Regions from separate parts of the Homo sapiens genome. Here all the other regions are linked to region 2. Evidence: promoter capture Hi-C in human tissues and cell types (Jung and others, 2019). All regions are on one chromosome and are shown on one strand. The core of a region is centred on a gene start or on the middle of the fragment in contact, and the rest is flanking DNA. Distances in the headings are between cores, read along the strand shown. Region 1 holds the start of SNX32 (sorting nexin 32). Region 2 overlaps MALAT1 (metastasis associated lung adenocarcinoma transcript 1). Region 3 holds the start of AP5B1 (adaptor related protein complex 5 subunit beta 1).

Region 1 (2,700 bases), core at 26-2,525, 330 kb after region 2:
CCACTCCATCTCAGCTTCTCTCTACTTGATCTCAAATTCTCTCCACTTGATCTCAGCTTTCTGCCACTGGACCTCAGCTTCACTCCACTGGACCCCTGCTTCTCTCCCCTGCACACCAGCTTCTCACTAGTAGACCTCAGCTTCTCTACACTTGATCTCATCTTGTCTACACTAGACCTCAACCCCTTCTCATCCTGTCCCAGTTTATATCCATTGGATCTCAAGTCCTCTCCACTGGTCCCTACCTTCTCCCCAGCAGACCTCAACCTCTCTTCAAACCCAGACCCCTTCATAGGCCCTGCTGTCATCCCTGCACTCTTAGATTTAGCCTTTATTTCGTGTTTGACCTCTTGCTTTCCCCAAATACCCCTTGGGCTGTCTTTCCCCAAATCTGCTGAAGCTTGTGATGCACTTGCTCCACGGTATAGCAGCTTCACATCCATCCTTTCCTGACTCGGGCCTGACTTCCCTTTCAAGACCGTCTTTTCCACATCTTCCAGTCTCCAGTACTCAGACTCCAGCTTCGGCTTTCGAGTGTTTCTAGTCAGGAGCTCCACTCTCTTCCCAATTACCATGAGCCCGTTCCAAGGTCCCCAGGTTTTCTCTCGCAGCATCGGCACCCCCTTGCAGCCCCGCTCCAGTGGCGACCGTTCGCGGACCCCGGCCTCGCTTGGGGCGCCCTGGCCGCGGGACTTGTGGAGCTCCCTAGTCCTCCTAGGCTGCTTACCCCGCCGCTCCCTCCCGTCCAAGAGCGGAAACCTAAACAGACCCCCCTTCTCCACAGACATTGTCCCCTGCCCTCGCCCCTGGTCCACCACCCACATCCCCACCACTGCTTCCCATTCCCTGTCCCCACCCTGCCACCCTCACCCTCTTCCCCTTCCCCTTCCCCTTCCCCACTGCCTGGTGGGCGCCAAACTGGGCGAGTGCGCACGCGCAGGCCGCACGTGGCCGTTGGAAGGAGGGGCCCGGAACGGCGGCACGGGGTTGTTGTGGGGGTCAGTCCCCCGGGGACTGGAGGGAGACGCGGCACGCGGCCTCTGCGACCCTATGAACTCTGACCCCAGCTCCCACACTGTCGCCTATCACCGGCCCACTCTCCGTGCCGCGTGTCCCTTAAAAGCTGGGGCCTGGGACAGGAACGACAGACAATGCAGCCAATGGCGTCACGCGCGGTGCCCCGCTACCCAATCGAAAGGCGTGGCTGAGGGAAACGCGGTGGGAACCGCCCCCGACTCCAGGCGACTCCTTGGCCGGGCGGGGGAGAGCGTCCCCGTCAGCTGAGAGCATCCTCACTCGGTCAGTTCCTCGGGCGAGTTACGGGGACGACCTGCGGGAGCACGCGGGCAGTGGCCGGACGCTGAAGCCCAGGAGAGCGATGGAGACGTATGCGGAGGTTGGGAAGGAGGGCAAGGTAGAGAAAGGATGAAGACCCCCACCCCAGCCTCCCCTCACTCCATGAAAGCCCGTGATGCCCAATCATGCGGTGGTGTGTGTGTGTCTGTGTGTGTGTGGTCTGCCTCTGTGTGTTTCTGTGTGTGTCTGTGTGTGTATAGTCTGCATGTGTCTGTTTCTCTGTGTGTCTGTGTGTATGTCGATGTGCCTGCATATGTCTGTGTGTGTGTGTATCTGTGTATGTCTGTATTTGTGTCTCTGTGTGTCTGTGTGTCTGTGTGTGTCTCAGTGTGTGTCTGTGTCTTTGTGTGTCTCTGTGTATCTGTGTGTGTGTCTGTGTGTCTCCGTGTCTCTGTGTGTGTGTGTATGGCCTGTGTGTGTCTGTGTGTGTGCACGTATGCGTCCATGTGGGTGTTTGTGCGTGCATGTCTGTGTCTGTCTCTGTGTGTGTCTGTGCATGTCTGTGTGTGTGTGTCTGTGTGTCTGTGTCTGTGTATGGTCTGCGTGTGTCTTTGTGTCTGTGTCTGTCTGTGTGTATGGTCTGCATGTGTGCATGTATGCATCTGTGTGTGTCTCTGTGTGTATCTGTGTGTGCACGCATGTGCCTGTGTGTGTCTGCGCAGGTCTGTGTCTCTTTGTGTCTGAGTGTGTGTCTGTCTCTGTGTCTATGTATGGTCTGCGTGCATCTTTATGTCTGTGTGTGTGTGTCTCTGTGTGTGTGTATGGTCTGCGTGTGTCTGTGTGTGTGTGTCTGTGTATTTCTGGGTCTGTGTGTGTGTTTGCATGTGTCTGTGTGTGTCTGTATCCGTGTGTCTTTGTATATCTGTGTGTGTCTATGTCAGTGTGTCTGTGTGTGCATCTGTGTGTGTCTGTGTGCCTGTGTATGATCTGTGTATGTCGTTGTGTGTGTCTGTGTGTGTGTTTCTCTGTGCCTGTGTGTTTGTGTGTGTCTGTGTATCTGTGTGTGTTTCTATGTGTGTCTGTGTGTGCGTGTGTCTGTGTTTGTCTCGTGTGTCTGTGTGTGTGTATGTGCCCATGTGTCTCTGTGTGTATGTGTGTGTCTGCGCAAGTGAGAGAAAGGAGACTTGAGCAAGGGAGTGGGGAGCCTCTGTGGCACCTGTGTGCGGACTGATGAGGATGCCAAGGGAGGCAGGGTTTTGCCTTTGTCCTTACAGATGGAAAGGGACCCGTCACTGTCACTCTTACCCTCCCCAAGACCAACTCAGGCTGTCTTGATGGGGGTAGGTGGGTAGGGGGTGGGAGGTGAGGGCGGGGAGGAGGGCAGGATGTTAGGGATTGAGCAGA
Region 2 (2,700 bases), core at 49-2,548:
CATGACGCAGGGAGAATTGCGTCATTTAAAGCCTAGTTAACGCATTTACTAAACGCAGACGAAAATGGAAAGATTAATTGGGAGTGGTAGGATGAAACAATTTGGAGAAGATAGAAGTTTGAAGTGGAAAACTGGAAGACAGAAGTACGGGAAGGCGAAGAAAAGAATAGAGAAGATAGGGAAATTAGAAGATAAAAACATACTTTTAGAAGAAAAAAGATAAATTTAAACCTGAAAAGTAGGAAGCAGAAGAAAAAAGACAAGCTAGGAAACAAAAAGCTAAGGGCAAAATGTACAAACTTAGAAGAAAATTGGAAGATAGAAACAAGATAGAAAATGAAAATATTGTCAAGAGTTTCAGATAGAAAATGAAAAACAAGCTAAGACAAGTATTGGAGAAGTATAGAAGATAGAAAAATATAAAGCCAAAAATTGGATAAAATAGCACTGAAAAAATGAGGAAATTATTGGTAACCAATTTATTTTAAAAGCCCATCAATTTAATTTCTGGTGGTGCAGAAGTTAGAAGGTAAAGCTTGAGAAGATGAGGGTGTTTACGTAGACCAGAACCAATTTAGAAGAATACTTGAAGCTAGAAGGGGAAGTTGGTTAAAAATCACATCAAAAAGCTACTAAAAGGACTGGTGTAATTTAAAAAAAACTAAGGCAGAAGGCTTTTGGAAGAGTTAGAAGAATTTGGAAGGCCTTAAATATAGTAGCTTAGTTTGAAAAATGTGAAGGACTTTCGTAACGGAAGTAATTCAAGATCAAGAGTAATTACCAACTTAATGTTTTTGCATTGGACTTTGAGTTAAGATTATTTTTTAAATCCTGAGGACTAGCATTAATTGACAGCTGACCCAGGTGCTACACAGAAGTGGATTCAGTGAATCTAGGAAGACAGCAGCAGACAGGATTCCAGGAACCAGTGTTTGATGAAGCTAGGACTGAGGAGCAAGCGAGCAAGCAGCAGTTCGTGGTGAAGATAGGAAAAGAGTCCAGGAGCCAGTGCGATTTGGTGAAGGAAGCTAGGAAGAAGGAAGGAGCGCTAACGATTTGGTGGTGAAGCTAGGAAAAAGGATTCCAGGAAGGAGCGAGTGCAATTTGGTGATGAAGGTAGCAGGCGGCTTGGCTTGGCAACCACACGGAGGAGGCGAGCAGGCGTTGTGCGTAGAGGATCCTAGACCAGCATGCCAGTGTGCCAAGGCCACAGGGAAAGCGAGTGGTTGGTAAAAATCCGTGAGGTCGGCAATATGTTGTTTTTCTGGAACTTACTTATGGTAACCTTTTATTTATTTTCTAATATAATGGGGGAGTTTCGTACTGAGGTGTAAAGGGATTTATATGGGGACGTAGGCCGATTTCCGGGTGTTGTAGGTTTCTCTTTTTCAGGCTTATACTCATGAATCTTGTCTGAAGCTTTTGAGGGCAGACTGCCAAGTCCTGGAGAAATAGTAGATGGCAAGTTTGTGGGTTTTTTTTTTTTACACGAATTTGAGGAAAACCAAATGAATTTGATAGCCAAATTGAGACAATTTCAGCAAATCTGTAAGCAGTTTGTATGTTTAGTTGGGGTAATGAAGTATTTCAGTTTTGTGAATAGATGACCTGTTTTTACTTCCTCACCCTGAATTCGTTTTGTAAATGTAGAGTTTGGATGTGTAACTGAGGCGGGGGGGAGTTTTCAGTATTTTTTTTTGTGGGGGTGGGGGCAAAATATGTTTTCAGTTCTTTTTCCCTTAGGTCTGTCTAGAATCCTAAAGGCAAATGACTCAAGGTGTAACAGAAAACAAGAAAATCCAATATCAGGATAATCAGACCACCACAGGTTTACAGTTTATAGAAACTAGAGCAGTTCTCACGTTGAGGTCTGTGGAAGAGATGTCCATTGGAGAAATGGCTGGTAGTTACTCTTTTTTCCCCCCACCCCCTTAATCAGACTTTAAAAGTGCTTAACCCCTTAAACTTGTTATTTTTTACTTGAAGCATTTTGGGATGGTCTTAACAGGGAAGAGAGAGGGTGGGGGAGAAAATGTTTTTTTCTAAGATTTTCCACAGATGCTATAGTACTATTGACAAACTGGGTTAGAGAAGGAGTGTACCGCTGTGCTGTTGGCACGAACACCTTCAGGGACTGGAGCTGCTTTTATCCTTGGAAGAGTATTCCCAGTTGAAGCTGAAAAGTACAGCACAGTGCAGCTTTGGTTCATATTCAGTCATCTCAGGAGAACTTCAGAAGAGCTTGAGTAGGCCAAATGTTGAAGTTAAGTTTTCCAATAATGTGACTTCTTAAAAGTTTTATTAAAGGGGAGGGGCAAATATTGGCAATTAGTTGGCAGTGGCCTGTTACGGTTGGGATTGGTGGGGTGGGTTTAGGTAATTGTTTAGTTTATGATTGCAGATAAACTCATGCCAGAGAACTTAAAGTCTTAGAATGGAAAAAGTAAAGAAATATCAACTTCCAAGTTGGCAAGTAACTCCCAATGATTTAGTTTTTTTCCCCCCAGTTTGAATTGGGAAGCTGGGGGAAGTTAAATATGAGCCACTGGGTGTACCAGTGCATTAATTTGGGCAAGGAAAGTGTCATAATTTGATACTGTATCTGTTTTCCTTCAAAGTATAGAGCTTTTGGGGAAGGAAAGTATTGAACTGGGGGTTGGTCTGGCCTACTGGGCTGACATTAACTACAATTATGGGAAA
Region 3 (2,700 bases), core at 91-2,590, 280 kb after region 2:
TGGGCCACAGGAGTGAGCAGATAGGAGGTGTCCAGAAGCTGGATCACCGCAGCCCGCAGCTCCCGCGCCTCCTCAGGGCTGTGCTCTCGTGCTGTAAGGCTACGCTCCCCCTCTCCCTCCTCAGCTGCCGGCCAGCTGGGTGCCTGGGGCTGAAGGCGTCCATCGCCCTCCTCCACTAGTGTCCAATCCCAGGGACCACCCCCAGTTGGGGAGACCTTATCCGTGAGCAGTCCCCCCAGGCCAGCCCCAACCCGGGACTGGAGCACCAAGGTGTTGCGCAAAGCGAGGGCCAGCAACAGGCTGAGTGGCTGGACAGGGCCTTCCTGCCCCAGCAGGCCCCGCAGCAACCCCAGGGAGCCCCCCAGCAGCCCGGGCTTGCAGCTCTCTAGCTCTCGCAGGCACTCGCAGGCCGTGGCCTGCAAGGGGCGCTGTTCCGAGGCGGGGACAAAGCCTCGCCCCAGATCGCTACCCGCGGCCAGGCCGAGCAGTAGGGGCAGGAGCCGGCAGGAGGCGCCCGAGGTGGGGCCCAGCGCGCCGCCCGCCGCCAGGGCAGTGGTGGCCGCCAGCAGCAGTGGCCGACGGAGAGCTGAGGGCCGCGGGGGTAGGAGGACCAAGGTGTCCAACAGGGAGGTGGCGGCCACTTCGGCCGCAGAGGCGTCGGGCCACAGCTGCGCAGGGTACTCCATGCTCAGGGCCAGCAGGGAAACCTGGATGGGGGATTAGGAGGGAATCACGAAGATGAGGTTCATGACGCGGCGGGCTGGGGTGACCCTGCGGAACGGCGCAGGGGACGCGTGGGGGCCTACCTTGGTCTGTTCGCTCAGCTTCTCACTTCTCAGGTCGCTCAGCAGGTCGCGACCCAAATCCTCCCCCTCGGGACCTGCCATGAAGGCAGACGGGCTGGCCCGGAAGGCCCCCAAGCGCTGGGCCCAGGCGTCCCGGCTCAGGGGCCCCATGGTGAGGCGCGCGGGCCCCTGCGCAGGGAAGAGGGACCCTCAGGCCGCAGCCACCGGGAGCGCGGGGCCCGCTGCCGACCCCGAGGGGCTGCGGTCACCCCCAGACGCCGCGCAGATGCCGGCGGGACCCGCGCCCGGCTCCCACGGTGAGACCAGGGCTCTCGGGGCCGACGCCAGAGCTGGGCGCCGGGGCCCTCGCGGGACAGGACAGGAGCAGGGCGGGGGAGGGTGCGTGCCGAGAGCTCGTTAGGCCGCCTCCCTCCCGCCCGCGGCCCGCACCGAAACCACAGCGCCACCCCGGCCCCCGGCGCCGGCGGTAACGGGCCGCGCTCGCCGCCTGACTCAGCCGCCGCGGGCACTCAGGCCGGCCGGCTCCTTCCGGGCTGGCGGCGCGGGGCGGGGCGCGGCGCGGGGGCGGCCGAGTCCGGGCGGGGAGGGGCGGGGCGTAACGGGGCCACCGCCTCCCGCAGGTGTCGACTCGCAGGTTTCGCGGGGGCTGACTAACTGTCCCGCCGCGCAGGCCCCCTTCCCCGAAACCGCCGCAGGCCGGGGCAGGAAAGGCGGAGGGGAGTGGGTAGGGGTGGCGGAGCGGGGTGGGCCTGGGCCCCAGATGCCGGGTACCGCGGCGCAGGGCTGCGATCCCGCGGCCCTCGGCGGACAGCGGCCCGGTCCCACCAGCGCCCGCCAAGCCGCGCAGGGCGGCAGCCAGCGCGCCCCCCGCCGGCGCCCGGGCACACCGCACCCTGCGCCAGACGCGCGGCCCCGGGGGGCGTGGGTGCGGGTCCTGGGGCTCCCGGAGTGGCCCCTGGGGGTGACCAAGGTGCGGTCGCAGGGCGCCCGCAGGAAAAGCGCCCCAGCTGAACCGGTCCGGCGGGCGCCGCAGGGCTTGGCTTCGCTTCCCTGACGCCTGCCCGGGCCCCCAGCCCGCTCGGCTTGGGGGCGAGGAGCCGGCGCCGCGGTTGCGGCCAGCCAGGAGCTTCTGACCTTTGTTTGCCCGAGGCCGCGCTGGCGGCCCGCAGGGGTCGTGACGGCGAGGGCGGGGCAGGGCCCTAAGTCGAAAACAACGGGATCCATACTCGGGAAGTGCGGGCTGTCAGGGCCTGGCCGGTCACGGGGCTCGAGGCATGCCTAGCGATGGGGAAAACAGGCCCAGGAGGAGGGCGGCCTTGCCAACCGAGATCTGGGGCCAAGCCGGGCCGGAACCCAGCACTCCAGACTTCAGTGGGCTGGATTCTGGCTGTTTGGGGGCATTCGGGGGTCTGGGCGGCGGTCTCTCCCAGGCCAGAGGCCCAGGTTGCAGGTGCCCCACAGACCACCGGTTTCCAGGGCACAGAACCGCCGGCGCCCAAACCTCACCACCCCTCTGGCTCCAATTAGCCGCTTTGAAGATGAAACAGGCCTGAGCCCCCATGCAAGCCAGTGCCAGCTGGCCTCTCCCTACCCCATCCTGCTCCAGATGGGAGGTGGTGGAGAGTTGAGGGGTGGAGAGTGCCAAAAAGGAGGCTGTCTGGGTGCCCTTGGGGATGGAGAGATAGAGACCCACTCGGAGGGACAGGTCCAGCCAGAAGGCCCGGTCCCGGCTCCTCTAGGCCCTGGCTCCACAGTTGACTCACAGGCAGCAGCCCCAAACTACTTCCCTCTAGGTGCCTCAGTTTCCCCATCTATAAAATGGGAGTGATAACTCCCACCCAAGAGGCTGTGGGGTGAGGCAGCCTGGCTAATTAAACCCAAGATGAAAGAGGCA

The links. Contacts are between HindIII fragments. The study calls those that stand out against the background at their distance.
Region 1: a contact is called between the fragment with the promoter of SNX32 here and a fragment that was not itself captured in region 2, in 1 of the 25 tissues and cell types used here (hippocampus).
Region 3: the fragment with the promoter of AP5B1 here is called in contact with a fragment that was not itself captured in region 2 in 1 of the 25 tissues and cell types used here (spleen).

The regions. Positions count from the first base shown.
Region 1 is chr11:65,832,688-65,835,387 of GRCh38, forward strand. SNX32 (sorting nexin 32) reads left to right here and starts at 1,276. Exons shown (of 13, transcript NM_152760.3): 1 at 1,276-1,414. The coding sequence starts at 1,379. LOC124902693 reads right to left here and starts at 1,112. Exons shown (of 7, transcript XM_047427980.1): 1 at 1-1,112. The coding sequence starts at 824. RefSeq lists silencers at 828-957, 1,131-1,343 and an enhancer at 1,268-1,357. The HindIII fragment of the contact is 13,089 bases long and covers 1-2,700 here.
Region 2 is chr11:65,499,535-65,502,234 of GRCh38, forward strand. It overlaps MALAT1 (metastasis associated lung adenocarcinoma transcript 1), which reads left to right. Exons shown (of 1, transcript NR_002819.5): 1 at 1-2,700. It also overlaps TALAM1. Among named protein-coding and RNA genes, the nearest start is that of MALAT1, 1.8 kb to the left of the region's middle. RefSeq lists an enhancer at 905-1,034. The HindIII fragment of the contact is 4,315 bases long and covers 1-2,700 here.
Region 3 is chr11:65,779,636-65,782,335 of GRCh38, forward strand. It overlaps AP5B1 (adaptor related protein complex 5 subunit beta 1), which reads right to left and starts at 1,341. Exons shown (of 2, transcript NM_138368.5): 1 at 807-1,341; 2 at 1-707. The coding sequence starts at 956. RefSeq lists silencers at 415-684, 835-1,014, 1,055-1,794 and enhancers at 423-1,325, 2,055-2,700. The HindIII fragment of the contact is 21,769 bases long and covers 1-2,700 here.